Linked DNA regions of Homo sapiens: region 2 is linked to region 1. The links are contacts of gene promoters, found by promoter capture Hi-C in blood cells and fetal thymus (Javierre and others, 2016). All regions are on one chromosome and are shown on one strand. The core of a region is centred on a gene start or on the middle of the fragment in contact, and the rest is flanking DNA. Distances in the headings are between cores, read along the strand shown. Region 1 holds the start of SLC16A10 (solute carrier family 16 member 10). Region 2 has its middle 12 kb from the start of CCN6.

What was found. Contacts are between HindIII fragments. The CHiCAGO score rates a contact against its expected background, and 5 or more counts as called.
Region 2: a contact is called between a fragment that was not itself captured here and the fragment with the promoter of SLC16A10 in region 1, in 1 of 17 cell types (fetal thymus). The highest score is 5.2, in fetal thymus.

Annotation. Positions count from the first base shown.
Region 1 is chr6:111,083,708-111,091,614 of GRCh38, forward strand. It overlaps SLC16A10 (solute carrier family 16 member 10), which reads left to right and starts at 3,796. Exons shown (of 6, transcript NM_018593.5): 1 at 3,796-4,388. The coding sequence starts at 4,046. It also overlaps the pseudogene RNU6-960P. RefSeq lists silencers at 3,477-4,156, 4,187-4,366 and an enhancer at 4,179-4,679. The HindIII fragment of the contact is 14,016 bases long and covers 1-7,070 here.
Region 2 is chr6:112,038,494-112,046,400 of GRCh38, forward strand. No RefSeq gene overlaps it. Among named protein-coding and RNA genes, the nearest start is that of CCN6, 12 kb to the right of the region's middle. RefSeq lists a silencer at 5,272-5,371. The HindIII fragment of the contact is 5,253 bases long and covers 977-6,229 here.

The DNA.
Region 1 (7,907 bases), core at 2,546-5,045:
TCACGCCTGTAATCTCAGCACTGTGGGAAGCTGAGGTGGGCAAATCACTTGAGATGAGGAGTTCGAGACCAGCTTGGCCCAACATGGTGAAACCTTGTCTCTACTGAAAATACAAAAAATAGCTGGGCGTGGTGGCACGTGCTTGTAATCCCAGCTACTTGGGAGGCTGAGGCAGGAGAATCACTTGAACTCAGGAGGCAGAGGTTGCAGTGAGCTGAGATTGTGCCACTGCCCTCCAGCCTCGGGGACAGAGAGAGACTCTGTCTCAAAAAAAAAAAAAAAAAAAAGGGCCAGGCACAGTGGCTTACACCTGTAATCCCAGCACTTTGGGAGGCAGAGGCAGGCGGATCATGAGGTCAGGAGATCAAGACCATCCTGGGAGGCTGAGGCAGGAGAATCACTTGAACCTAGGAGGTGGAGTTGCAGTGAACCGAGATCTTACCACTGCACTTCAGCCTGGGTGACAGAGCGAGACTCTGTCTCAAAAATAAAATAAAACAAAATAAAAATAAATAAATAAGACTGTCCTAAATAGGAAAGGTTGGTCTTTTGAAATAGAATAAGGAATCAAGTGGATTGTTTTGTTTAATAAATAAGTTTAACATAAACTGCTGATGAAAAGGCCTACATAAAGCACTGTTGGCATTTAGATTTAATGAACTATTACACCTTTTAAAATTTTATAAATCTTTTTATCTGATCTCAAAGCACTTAATAAATAGGAACTCATTAAAAACATACCATCACTGCGCTGAGCATGGTGGCTCATGCCTGTAATCCCAGCACTTTGGGAGGCCAAGGCAGGCAGATTACGAAGTCAAGAGATCGAGACCACCCTGGCCAACATGGTAAAACCCCATCTCTACTAAAAATACAAAAATTAGCTGGGTGTGGTGGTGCACGCCTGTAGTCCCAGCTACTCAGGAGGCTGAGGCAGGAGAATCGCTTGAACCCGGGAGGTGGAAGTTGAAGTGAGCCGAGATTGGGCCACTGTACTCCAGCCTGGTGACAGAGTGAGACTCCATCTCAGGAAAAAAAAAAAATACCATCACTATGTCACTATGCTGTAGTTATAAGTAAACAGGTTCATATTTTCAGGTGGAGAAGATGAGGTCAATCCAATAACACAATGTGAGTTGTTGATTAGTGTGGACATAGAAATAGAAGGTAGTTTTCCTGGACACCTAAAACTCTGCTCCATTCAATAGCCTATTGGTAGTTAGAAGTAAACACTCTTTTTTTAAAGAGATGGATTATTACTTATGTTGCTTGAGGCCAGGAGTTCGAGACCAGCCTGGTTGCTGGTCTCAGCAATGTTGCTCAGGCTGATCTCGAATTCCTGGCCTCAAGCCATCCTCCCACCTGAGCCTCCCAAAGTGCTGGGATTACAGGCTTGAGCCACCACACCTTGCCTCATTTGTTACAATTAATGACCCAATGTTGATACATTATTATTAACTAAAGCCGACATTTTGTTCATATTTCTTTACTTTTAATCTAATGTCCTTTTTCTGTTCCAGTATCCATCCAGGATATCACATTACATTTAGTTATCATGTCTCTTAGGCTTTTTTTTTTTTTTTTGAGTTGGAATCTCACTGTCACCCAGGCTGGGGTACAGTGGCGCGATCTCAGCTCACTGCAACCTCTGCCTTCTGGGTTCAAGCGATTCTCCTGCCTCAGCCACCTGAGTATCTGGGATTACAGGCCCACGCCACTATGCCTGGCTAATTTTTGTATTTTTGGTAGAGATGGGGTTTCGCCATATTGGCCAGGCTGGTCTCGAACTCCTGACCTCAAGTGATCCGCCCGCCTCGGCCTCCCAAAGTGCTGGGATTACCAGCATGAGCCACGACACCCAGCCCTCTTAGACTCTTTTTTACTGTGACAGTTTCTCAGACTTTCCTTGTTTTTGATGACTTTTACAGTAATGAAAGTACTTAATGGGTATTTTGTAGACTGTCCTTGATTGGGATTTGTCTAATGTTTTTCTGATGGTTAGCCAGGGATTATGGGTTTTGGCAGGAAGACCACAGAGGTAAAGTACCATTTTCATCACATCATATCGGGGATACATTATCATCTAGTTGAGGTACTGTGTGCCATTTTTTGCACCCTAAAGTTATTTCTTCCCCCCACTCCCCCTTTCCATCCTATACTCTTTGGAAGAAAGTTACTACGCATACCCACACTTAAAGAGTAAACCATTGTACTTCACCTCCATGAGGGAGGGAGTATGTTCATAAAGTATTTACATTTCCTGCAGGAGAGATTTGTCTATTCTCTCCTCATTATTTATTTAATCATTTACTTACATCAGTACTGACTCGTGGATAATTCTTACATATGTGTTTGTTTGTGTGCATGCAAATATATAATCGATGTGCTTTCTTTGCCCAATAATATGTTGTGGACAACTTTCAAAGTCAATAAATACAGATGACCTTCAGAACTTTTAGAGGTTTTAAAGTAAGTATCTAATCAGTCTTCTACCAATGTACATTATACTTCCAAATTTTCCTTATTTCCAACAATACTGGGGTATCATCTTCATACATACATTTTTGTGCACTTATGTGCCTATTCCTTTGTTTACTATTTTACCCTCATTTCTAAGGCAGATTACACTTGAGCTATGTTCCCCATTCCACAACCAAGCACGGCTTGCTTTCCTTAGTTTATGCTATTTTCTCTACCTGGAATGCTCTTTTCCTGTCTTGACCCACTGAAGTCGTATGTATGAATCAGGGCTTCGGCCAAAGGCTGTTTGCTGTAGAGGCTCTTCTACAGTGTTTGGAGAGAATTTAAGGGACTATCTCATCTCTCTCTTTTGTACATGTATTATAACACATCATCTGAGCCTCCTAGTCTCTCCCAGGACTCTTTTTTCCTACCAGTTTATCAACTGATAAGAGGCAGAAACGAGATCAATCGCACTCATCTGTGTACTCTATCACAGTGGTGGGCACATCAAGTAACTAGCATATTTTGACTTTGATTGAAGTGAAGAATACGAATAACAGAAATTAAGAAGCATCCTCAATATTGCATAGCAGGTTACTCTTCTTTTCTTTTACATAGGATGGCACTCCATGCTTCAGGGAGACAGAGGAGTTGAATACAGGTTTTAGTTTTTGTTTAAAGTGAAAACGACTCTGATGTAGTTGAAAAGTAATGCTTTCTAGCTGTCTGTTAAAAATGTTTGTTGGTTGAAGACTTCGGAATTGCAGTCCAGTGAGGACTGAAAATAAGCATCTTTGGTGTGCCAAATATTCATAAGGAAATTGTATACGAATGCAAGAGAATGGAACTGAAGTAATAAAATAAGGGCTCTGATCCTTCAGATGACTTATTTAAGAAGCCAGGTGGCATAACGAATCTTACATATTATAATTAGTACTGAGAGGTGAATGCCAAAACATAAAACAAACACAATCGAGACAATGTTAGTGTGACTGTGACGCTGTGTCGGTGAGTTGAGGCTAACGATCCAGTGTGGCTCTCCTGAAGGCCCACCGCGCCCGCACCTAGGAGACGCGCCCCTTCTGCTCATGCTTTGAGGCGGGGTGACCCACACATCTGTGCCCCTCTCTGAGCAGGAGGAGGCCCCGTCGCAGACGCGCGCGCAGACAGCGTCTGCCGCGGGCACCTGGGGCCGCGCGCCGCGGGGCGCCCCGCCTCCGCTCTCCGAGGCCCAATCATCTGGAGGCTGTGGGGGCACGTCCCGCTCCCGGCCACGCCCCCAGCCGGCGGGGCGGGGGGTGCTTTTAAGAACCGGCGGCTGGCAGTGGGCTCAGTCGGGGGTGCGGGGCTGTGACCTAGAGGCTTCAGTGTCGATCCCCGAGGTGTTCGCGCGCGCCAGCTGTCCTCGCGGCCGCCTGCGCGCTGGCCGCCTGCGCGCTGCCAGCCCGCCCGCCCGCCAGGGGCTCCGCCGCCCTCGCCTCGGCCTCGTTAGCCCGCCAGGAGCCCCGCAGCTCCTCCGGGAGCCCGCTGGTAACTCGCGTCCCTCGCGCTTCTCCGGCGCCTGAGGGGCCCGCCTCGGGCCATGGTGCTCTCCCAGGAGGAGCCGGACTCCGCGCGGGGCACGAGCGAGGCGCAGCCGCTCGGCCCCGCGCCCACGGGGGCCGCTCCGCCGCCCGGCCCGGGACCCTCGGACAGCCCCGAGGCGGCTGTCGAGAAGGTGGAGGTGGAGCTGGCGGGGCCGGCGACCGCGGAGCCCCATGAGCCCCCCGAACCCCCCGAGGGCGGCTGGGGCTGGCTGGTGATGCTGGCGGCCATGTGGTGCAACGGGTCGGTGTTCGGCATCCAGAACGCTTGCGGGGTGCTCTTCGTGTCCATGCTGGAAACCTTCGGCTCCAAAGACGATGACAAGATGGTCTTTAAGACAGGTGAGGCGCGGCGCCCGCCGAGGCCAGCCTGGGCGACCCGCGTGGGGCCCCCGAGCGCATCCCGCGTGTGGGCTGTGTCTGCCTCCGAGTGTGCATGTCGGTGGGTCCCTGTGCCAGAGGGTGCGAGCAGGGGGGTCTTTCGAGTTGCAGACAGAGCCTGCCGCTTCTGGGGCCTCGGGGTGCCCGTCTTTATATGGAATCCAGCTGCAGAGCTGTGTGTTTGCAAGCAGGTCGCAGAACTTACTTGCCGAGATCGTCCTCCTTTCCCCTCAGCAGAGCAGACGCTAACAGTCCACAGGAGCCCTTCCTTTTATTGTTTGAAAACAAACAGAACCCCAGAACCTTCAACCCCAGTCATCGCCCTGTCATTTTTGTGGTCTCTTTCGTGACTATGCCAGTTATGTAGTTCTTCACCTGCCTCCCTGGGCCGCAGAGGGGTGTGCGTATGTTGGCGGGGCGGGGGGTGGAGTTTGGAGGAATGAAAGAGATTTGTACGAAGGTCACTGGAGTTCCAAAGGGGGCCCTGCAAGAGTCACGGTTCCGTGCGTTCCCGTCCCCCCGCCTTTTTTTGCCCTCTGGGTTAAATGTAGAAAACACGGGAGGCAGCCGGATTAGGGACTAGGATGAGGAAGGTGAAGGGTTGCTTCTTCCCTCTTCCTGTTGTGTTTTTTGACATTTTTTTTTAACCATATAGTAAATTAGATACAAAAGGTGCAGATTCAGCGTTTTCTCCCTGTAGAGCATTATTATGACTTTTTGGCTGGTTAGGCAAAAAACAAATCTAAGACCTTCTGCATGACACTTTAACATAAATTCTTTCACTTTATCCTGCAAGGTGAGCGCGGTCAACCCCATTTGGGTGAGAAAACTGTAGCTCAGTGAAAGTGTCTTGGTGGGTAGTAGAATGGCAATAAAACACATATCAACTGACTTCAAGGGCTAAGTGATTTCCATTACTAAATCAACCTCCCTCCCCATCATTTGGGGTAACTTTATATGATTAATAGTCTTTTTTTTTAACCTTGATTTTCTATTATTTTTAGAGTGAATATTTCTTAGGTCTTTAGTATGCATATGAGGAATGGGCAAGACTGTAATAAATTCTGAGACAAAGGTAATGCTGGGTTATGCTGAGAGTTTTAAAACCTGACATAAATACTATTAAACTATTTGTATCATTCTGCAACTTACTTTTCTTCCATTCCGCATCATGTTTGTGACTTATCCACATAATACCTCAGTGTGAACTGATAACTCAAATTCTTTCCATTTTAACTTAGGTGGTTTGCATTGTTTGACTATATTATACTCTATGCATTCTCCCTCTGATGGGCATTTAGATTGCTTCCAAACTCATTCTAAACAATGCTGCAATGAATATTCTTGTACACTCTCGTTATGCATGTGAATACGGTACCATTTTAACCTGGAATTTCTGTTCTTTAAATAGCTATTGAAACTGCTGTGGTATGCGGGTCAATGGGCTAGGTACAAAAAGTGTTAAAAATGTAGTAACATATCCTTACCATTTAAGGGAAGTAATCATTGTAAAGTTTAGCAGGGGAGATATGCATATATAATAGCAAACAAAAATAGTTTGTTGTCTTTTCTATATGAGTATTGGGTGTCAGAGAGAAAAGCCCCAAAAGAAGGCAGAATTGACAGAGTTAACATTTAAAGACTAGTTCCAACATTTACCATATTCCTGCCTGGGATTACAGATTTTTTAATGCAGTCAAGATAACAGCAGTCTTTTGTTTATCATTGTTTTTGCAAATTCAGTTAAGTAGATCCTTTGGTGTCTGTGGGTGGGTTTTTTTTTTTTTTTTTTTTTTTTTTTTTTTTTTTTTTGAGAGAGAGAGAGAGCAATTGCCAGAGAGACCATAGCTTTGCCAGGGATGAGAATTTTGCAGTGTCAAAGTCTCTACCTACTACTTGTCCCCAAAGTTCTAATTGGCTACACAATATCCCAATACTGGGTAGCTGAGAGTGAGGGAAGGAACCTGGTTTTTCTTTTGCACTCTGTGGAACTTTGTGTTTTCCATTTTGATGAATATCTTTTTTCTTTTTACTCAGTTCAGTCTTTGACAACTTTTTCAGTCATGTTTGTGTATGTGTGGGTATATATCATATAAACAGTTGCACAGGTGTGCTAGTTAAATGTGTGAAGATCTTTGTGTTTCTCTGCCTGACTGCTGTATATCTATTTATGGTTGTGCCATTGCACAAGGGTGCCCAACTCAGGGGTAAGTGGGGACTGAAAACCAGCCTGGGCTCTGGGTGCCCTTTGTCTGATTCCTACAGAAGGGCCCTATGCACTTGTAATGGCCCTGTATAACACAGCATCTAGATTGAACAATGGCCATTACTTGGGTGCTAGGTAATACATATATGACTGATAGATGTTAAGGGCTGAGGAAGAAAACAGATTTAAACTTAGTGCTGAAAAAATGGTTACAAGATAGTCTTTAAGCCAGTTATTGTTGAGATCTCTCTCTCTTCCCCTGTCCCCTACCCCTTTCTCTTTCCTTCAGTGCACACACACACACACAAAGGTGTTTCATGAAGTCCCTCATCTACCACAGTCACTGTTATTTGAGAATATCTGCTTTGAAGTTTGATTGGTCACACTTTTTCACTTTGATATTCGAATGCTGAGTCGTCTGTGATCAAGCATATGCAAGCTTCAAATACATGCCAAAAAATATCTGGAATTTGTTTAAGCCTTTTATTTTTCAAAGTTTTGGTCTATTTTCTATTACCGTACTCATGATGGATAATCCTGGTGTTAGAGTACAGCTAGTTCTGTCTCCTTGTTTCCATTACTTCTTTATAGCAAGTGACTAGCCTAAGGATATACAGGGAGGTGGTGGTGGAATGGAATCTAGGTCTCCAAATGATGGTGCGCATTTCTTGAGTACTTTCCTGTGGCTAAGCACTTTAGATGCGTTCCTATTTAAACCTTACCACGATTCTCTGATAGACTTTGTTAATATCTTTCTTTTCAGATATGGGAACTCAGGCTTACAGAGTTTAAGTAAGAAGTGGAGCCAGAATTCAACCCCAGGCTTATCTGACTCTAAGAGCTGGGATTTTTATTTTAATTATTTATTTATTTAAAATATGGAATGCTTCATGAATTTGCATGTCATCCTTGTTCAGGGGTCACGCTAATCTTCTCTGTGTCATTCCAATTTTAGTAGATTGTTGTTCAAAGTGCTGCTGAAGCAAGCACCAGGAGCTGGGTTTTAATCATTCATCATATTGCATTGACTAGATAACATTCTGCAAATACGATGTTTTTTATGTTGTTGATTAATTTAAGTGTTAGTGATTGGTTGAGTGCTCTACCATGCATTCTGGGATTAGAAAGAAGGGTCCCTGTTTCTTGGTCCTACTTTGTGGTGAATAAACAATTGCAAATTATTAATGTCTCAAACTATATTTCTGAAGTGTAGAGAGACTTCCATAGAAGAACAAGATACTTCCATATGCCGTTCAAGCAAAAGTCTGGGGTTT
Region 2 (7,907 bases), core at 2,353-4,852, 950 kb after region 1:
CATCTCAGTCCCAGAGGCACGGTCAGCCTGGCTTCTATGCCTCTGTGTGCTGCTTCCCCAGCGGATGGCTGCCTACCTCTCAAAGGAGCCTTCAGGGGCCCCTACAGTACCATTTTCAAACACCAGTTAGTCAATATTTTAAGCTGGGGGGTCCCAAATTGGTGGAAATCTGTCTGGCTGTCTTCCCCTGATGCGATAAGAAGCAGGAAAACAAACAAACAGAAACAACAACAACAAAAAAAACAGAAATGTAATTTTATTTCTATAGATGACAAACATTGTCAGAAATGGTTCTTTTCTTCTTTGTTTTGGATTCAATAAAGAGTGGGGGAATATCGGAAATGAAGGCCCTGAGAGATGAGCCAAATCATCCAAATGTATATGAGCAAGGTATGGGTGAGTCTGTCACTTCAGGGGCCTGTGGGAACTGAGCTGGATGAATGCAGAGCGAAGAGTCAGAAATCCCACAGCTGCCAGTGATGAACTGTTAGCTGTCCTTGGACTGTGTCGGCGCATCTAGCTCCACCATCAAACAGGGTCACAACTTGCTCCATTAATGACCAGTTCACAGTGCGCATCTGTTTCAGGCAAGGTGTGCTCGTTACCTTAACAGAAGGTTTACCTTGTAAACGTTTCTCACAAGGAAAAACAAACGACCAAATAACCTCATATTTTTGTGATGAGTAGATTTTTTTGGATCATCAGCCCTGCCCTTTCTCCATTACCAAGTTCACGGCAAGGCTGACATTCCAGGGCAAACACCCGCCTTCTTGGCGCCCACGAGCAGCGGACTCCTCATTCTGCTTTAGTTTACTGCTTCCGCATTAACTCGTCCACTGGCTCCCTTATTCATTTGTTCAACAGACAATTATTATCTACTGTGTTGGCAACAGTGCTGGGCACTGGGTCTTCCTGTTCTTAGCTATGTAGAATTCAGAGAAGAACACAGTGCATAGATTGCCTAGGAGTGGAGAAAAGCTTGATGTGGCAACTTCCAGATCCTATCATAGGAGATGGAGCCGCATGTCCCTCCAAGATGCATATTCTGGGAGGTTTATTCCCAAATAAGAAGAGAGTGTGGGTGATGGGCAGCCACAAACATAGCAAATGTTCACTAAAGATAGTATCTTTACTATGACTGGTTCATCTGCATTCTCCTATTCCATGCCTGTTGCCTGTGAAGAGTCTGCAAAGGTTAGGTGCTCCTGCAGCTGACCTGGCCTTCTGCGTAGGGAGGAAGACAAGTTAGACTTCCAAACAAGGTGACATACAAGTGAGAACTCTGTTGGAGGCAGTTAGCAGAAACCCAATCCAAATTAGCTTAAGCAAAACAGAAATTTCATTTTAAGGATATGGGAGAGATTTGTCCATTACAGCTCAATAAAACTGGGGAAAAAAAAGAATATGGGGGAGGAGCATGTCTCATGGAATCCAGTGGAATCCATGCTTGGACTTTGGGAATGACACAAATCCAAAAACATGAATGTTGTCAGGACTCTGCTGCCAATATTCATATAATTAATAATATTTGTGGAGCATTTATTATGTCCTAGGCATGCTTTCTGCTTAGGTTCATTGCATTTTATTTATTTATTTATTTTTACAACAACTCTGTAAAATCTGAACTAAAATTATTCCATTTTTCAGAGGTGGAAGCCTGGGGAAGTAAAGGCATGTGTCCAATGTCACACAGCTATTGTAGTAAGAGAGCGAGTGTGAATCCATAGCCTGTACTGGTGACCCTAACCACATTGTTGTCCCCTGCCTTGGTGCAGACTGCCATCCTCTGTCCCTCAGCTCAACACACCCCAAGTTTCACACATGCCATCCATCAGTCTATGGAGACACCACACTTCTCTGTGTCTCCAGTCATCTCTCAAAGAAAGGACTATGATTGGCCAGGTTGGATGAGGTCCCAGGGGTATCACCCAGAGGAGCTCGGCCATACCAACTAGAAGAAATGGTTGAGAGTAAGGGCTTCAGGGGCAAGGCGACCATTTTCAGGAACTGAGTGTTTCTGAGCAGCCAAACAATGGTTAACTACAAATTTCACCTTTCCCTCCTGCATGACTTTTCATTTTTGCTTTACTTTCCAGCAATTTAGAAATAAATTTAATTTTCAAAGGCACTGACTCATTCCATGTGTCTGGGAGCATCTAGTTCTCTGCTCTATTTTACAGAGCTTTCCTCTTCTTTTACTATTTTTTTCAATCATTAAAAAAAATTTAATTCTCCTGTTTTATACTGTGCTTGATTTTTTTGTAAGCTGTCTTAGCTTACAAAAACATTTATGGAAATATGTGAGGGATAAATTATGGATTAAAAAAGAAAAAAGACTTCAGAGTTATGCTATCAACATGGCAGCTACTAGCCACTTATGACTATTTAAACTTAAATTAATTAAAATTAAATAAAATAAAAAATGTAGTTCCTCATTCACACTGACCATATTTTAAATGCTCAACAGCACATTATAGTTCTATATTATAGAATATTTCCATAATTGCTGAAAGTTCTGCTAGACAGTGCTGCTACACAGGGTTCCAACAATGGTGTGCTGTCTCTGAAATAATGAGCTCCCTAAAGGAAGTGGCCCGGTGACCTGCATTCACCCTCCAGATCTCAGGGGTTGTGAGTCCCAGCTTTCTTTCCCACCATTATGCTTCCTGTTGATTGCTTCCTGACTCACTTCCCTATTCATTTTCTCAAAGCCAACATTTACATCACATAAACTTAAGTTATTCCTTTTCAGTAGCAGAAAAAACATATAATTGTAATAAACATTTTTGGGGGGTGGAAGGGATATTTATTACTGATACTAAAAATTTAATGCCTTTGCTTAATTAGAGGTGGGACTGAAGGAATGCATGAACCGAAAATGCTGGCTAACAAAACAAAGTGTTTATACATGGAAATGCTTCAAGAGCCCCAAAACAGAGCTCCCATGTTCTCCATGGTGGGAAAGTTTCCATCTTTCCTCTTTTTGTAACTGTCCAGAAAAGACAGAATGTTTTTGATCAAAGTGGCTTTGAATCTTTAGCATTACGTTGTCCCATTAGAACAGAACTTTTTCCCATGCAGTGCCAATCCACACATTTAGTTTCTGCAGCTCCTTAGTTTTATTGGGAATGGGGGTGGGGATGGTGGCACCATCTTGTTTGAAAGGGTTTACAGCTGATACTACCGTTTACAGTAAATTCCTAGAGTGGGAGGAGGAAGTGGCACATTTTTGGAGCAGCTAGGTGGCTGGAAGAGATTCTCCTCCCCCAAGACTGGTCAGAGGTCCTGTGAGAATGGGAGCTGCTCACCTCTCCTTGGCAGTGTGCTGGGCTGGGGAGGTGCCAAGATATCCCTAGCAGCGACTCCAGCCAGGGAGATTGGTCCCTAGATGCAGCATCTTCCAGTGCACCAATGTTCTCATGACCCAAGGCTGGTACTGAAATAGCAGGATTGTCAAACCTGAAGGAACCATTGCCTGTGGGCTGCAGGGACCTGGAACCCTGACCCAAACCAGGATGGAGGAGGTGCCCAATAATGATTATGATTCAGCTGTCCAACAGCTCAATAAAAGGGGGACTTGGAGTTACATGCGACTTGATTTAAGGGATTCTAAAAATATATTTATTGTGAACCTGAGTTTAAGAACTGATATTCTTGCTTACTGAAGGTGGACATACTAACTTTGGACATAAAACCTGAGGGGCAGGTAAGGGCAGTGTCTGTGTGCCTGGCATGCACAGGACACAGATGGCATTCTGAAAGCCATCATCCAGGACTGAAGAGTTGCTTTCCACACTCTGAAACTGTGACACGAGATTCACTTTGGAGAGTCTTTTGTGGATGAGCCTCATCAATTAACAGTCCTAGTGTGTGTAAGCGTGAGCTCAGTTTTGTTCTGTCAAGTCTTAAGACAGCATTTGATTTAGCAGTTGATTCAATTACATTACATGTGGATTTGGAAAAGTGGTGTGTGTGTGTGTGTGTGTGTGTGTGTGTGTGTGTGTGTATTTCTTTTAAACAATGATGTAACCTTTCTGAATTCAGGTGGAAACTGTCTTGATTGACCTCCGCGTACCAGGACAGATTAATTAACTCTTAGTTTCTTTCGTGGAACATACGAACACACCCTGAGCTCACTGAGAGCTCACAGCTGGTAGGAGAGGAGGCTCCTCTTTAGTAGGCCCAGTGTGTTGTTTGCCTCTTTCCTAATCTGTTCATTCCACTTAATTGTATCCCGATAACGACACAATTTGAGCAAATATTAATTTGAGCAAATATTACTAAAACTGATGATACACAGATACATGAAGAAAGATATTTCCAATGGAAAGAAAAAGCAAAATGCTTGGGAAAGATTCAACAGGAAAAGCTGCTTTAAATGTGTTGTTGAATTATATTTGATGGTTATGAGTACAGAATCTAAGATTCTTTAGTCAAGATGTTTTACACTGTCTCTAAATTCTCATTTCACAAAGGAAACTCAAATGAGACAACATGGAGGATGCATTATATGTGTGGCTCATAAAGAGAGGGAACAATACAGCACTCTAATCAGCACATCTATATTCAAAGAAAGGCATTGGCTAAATAAAAACACTGGTGAGTAAATAGACAACTCAGTTCCCTGCTAAAATAAAATGTTTGTATAGGCAGGACTCCTGCGAGAGCCCCTTTGACTGCCCGTTGAGCGCCCTCTGCTGGCCCGGAGGGAAGGGTGCCACGGAGGGGACGGCGTCAGGGCCCCACCCACGGTTTAGTTTCAGATCAGCGCTTTTCAGTTCCAAGATACAGATTCCGGTTCCAATGAATGCTGGTTGAAAATACGGCCGTGGTTTTAAATATCATGAAACTATTTTACGTCCGTAGTACTTTCATCTATTTTTATAAGAATGTTTTGTAACTGAGAAACCTAAAGAGATGATGAATTTCCCCCACCGCCCCCGACTATTTTGCCTTTCAGTGACGCGGTAATATTTTACGATAGGTGCCGATTCAAATCAGTGGCTTTCAGAAAGTACAGCTGCTATTCTTTGGTGCCGCTATTCAGAATGACAATGTGAAATAAAAATGATTCTGACTATGGGAAGGTCTGATCTTCCTATGAATGAAAACAATCATGTGGGCCACAGAGAGCTCTCTCTTTCCAGCTATCGAGGGACTTTTTGCAGAGAGAGAAAAGGATCCTAAAGCCATGTTCCCGATACTGCAGACTTGGCGAGATGGCGGCGGGCTCCTCCCACCTCTGCGGCAGCGTCACAATCAATAATGCAGGGCTCTGCGGCAGAGGAAGCGCCTGCTTTTATATAGGGGCGCCCGGACCCCAGAGCAGGGCTAGTCCCTTAACCCATTCCGCCATCTAGCGTCCGCAGGGGCTCATGGCAGGTTGGAGCCGGACAGTCTGGAAACTGCAATCTAGATTTTGCAGAAGGGTGACCTTTAGCCTTCTGCAAAACCTAGATCTCACTTAATGTAGATCTCACTGAAGAAGGCAAATAAAAAGTGAGTGGAGTGTTTATTCATTTTCCTGTAAGATTAGTAACTTTAAGGCTAAAAACTCTAAAGTAAGTATTTCCCAAGCCCCTGCTGTAAGTCAGTCATGTTGTGGGTACCAAGGCTATGAAGATGTCTCAGTCTCTATTTTCAGTGACCCAGTCTAGTAGGGACAAGCCATATGAACATATGCCCAGTTAAATTTGAATTTCAGGTTAACACGGAATTTGTGTGTGTGTGTGTCCCATATATGCTAAAGCAGTTAACTGGGCATCTATTATTATCATTATTTTTATAAGCAAAATCTTGCAACCGTGCATATAAACAGATGATTGCAGTATGGGCTTTACAAGGGCAGGGTGGCACGCTAATTGCTTGAGGAGCTTTGCTGTGGGTGCTGGTTAGGAAGCGTTCTCAGGGGAGAAGTCGCTTGTGCAAACTGCTTATCAGATAAAGCAGTGGGCAGGGTTGTCCTGGTAGAATCGCATAAGCAAAAGCAAGAGGCTGGGGGACTCGCAGTACAGCAGGTCTGTGCTACCTGAGCTGGCAGGTGAGGCAAGGATAGTGCAGGGGTGAGGTTGCTTCATCGTGGAAGGCCTTCTACTGTGCTTCCCAGGAGCTGGGTTCTATTCCAGGGGGAGTGAAAAAGGGTTTTGAGCGGGAGAGTGACATGATCTAATTTGTGTTTAAGAAAAAGAGATCAAATGGCAATGTTGAGGCTGGACTGGGGGAGGTAGGAAGCTTGGAGGCAGGGAGGCCTGAAGGAAATTGTCTAAGGTGAGTGAGCTCAGAAAAGTAGCAGAGCTTGAAGGTGAATGAGGGTCTTTTGACTCCAAGTCCAGGATGCCTGTCACTGTCCCCATCTAATTGAATTATGATTCACATGTGCAAGCATTTTACAAATCAGGAATGACACACCACATTATGCATACTTTTCCTTCTCTGAAAGATTAGCTTCACCCACATTTGGAAATACTGGAAATTTTTCTGTCCTCCTCTTCTCTTGCTTCTCCTTTGCATGTGGTCGGCCTCGGTGTCTGCCTCTGATTAACTCAGCCCTGTTTCCCACACAGAGCTCCCCCTGCAAACCAGACTAACAAGGCCAAGTGACAAAATGAATTATAAACCTCTGAGATATTTGGCCTTGTTTTCCTTGGGCCACAGCCTGACTTTTTTAAAGGCCCTTGGAATGAGGACACCTGTTTATTTTCAAGGAGACTCTGACCCAAGCCCCACGCAGATGGCTGGGCAGAGCATTTTGTGGTGGTCAGAGGTTGCTCATTTTTGGACCTGGTTTATTAAAAGTTGGACAGGGGACCAAGCAGAGCCTGGCACCTCTTTGTCCCTCCATCCATGGTGGGGGGCATTGGCAGCACCTTAGCACGCACAGAACAGCCCCTCAGAGAATGCACAGGTGTTGATTAACAAGGCTTGTATACACGTTAGTGGAGGAAGAAGAGAAAACAAACCTACTCTCTCATGCACATGTGACTAGAGTCACGTTGGGATCGTGAGGCTAGTGCTTTGTAAAAAAAAAATGGGATGCTTTTAACAGAAAGACATATAGAAAAAAAGGTAAGTGAGATGTGCAATACAGTCACATGTCACACAATGACGTTTTAGTAAATGACAGTCCTCATATACAAAAGTGGTCTCATAAGGTTATAGTGTAGCTGAAAAACTCCAATCACCTAGTGCCATCGTAGCCATTCCAACATCACAGTGCAATGCATTATATGTTTGTGGTGATGCTGGTATAAACAAACCAACTGCACTGCCAGTCATATAAAAGTATAGCACATACAATTATGTACAGTACATAATACTTGAGAATGATAATAAATACTACATTACTGGTTTATATATTTACTATACTATATTTTTATCATTATTTTTGAGTGTAATCCTTCTACTTATTAAAAAAAGTTAGCTATAACACAGGACAGGCAGGTCCTTCAGAAGGCATTGTTATCATAGGAGATGACAGCTCCATGCATGTTTTTGCCCCTGAAGACCTTCCAGTGGGACAGGACGTTGAGGTGAAAGACAGTGATATTATGATCCTGACCCTGTGTAGGCCTAGGCTAATGTGGATGTTTGTGTCTTAGTTTTTACTAAGAAAAGTTTTAAAAGTAAGAAAAAACATTAGAAAAAAAGCATACAGAATAAGGATACAAATAAATTATTTGTGTATAGCAGTACAATGTGTTTTAAGCTGTGTTATAAAAGAGTCAAAAAGTTGGCCAGGCACGGTGGCTCATGCCTGTAATCCCAGCACTTTGGGAGGCCAAGGTGGGTGGATATTTGAAGTCAGGAGTTTGATACCAGCCTGGCCAACATGGTGAAACCCTGTCTCTACTAAAAATACAGAAATTAGCCAGGTGTGGTGGCAGGTGCCTGTAGTCCCAGCTACTTGG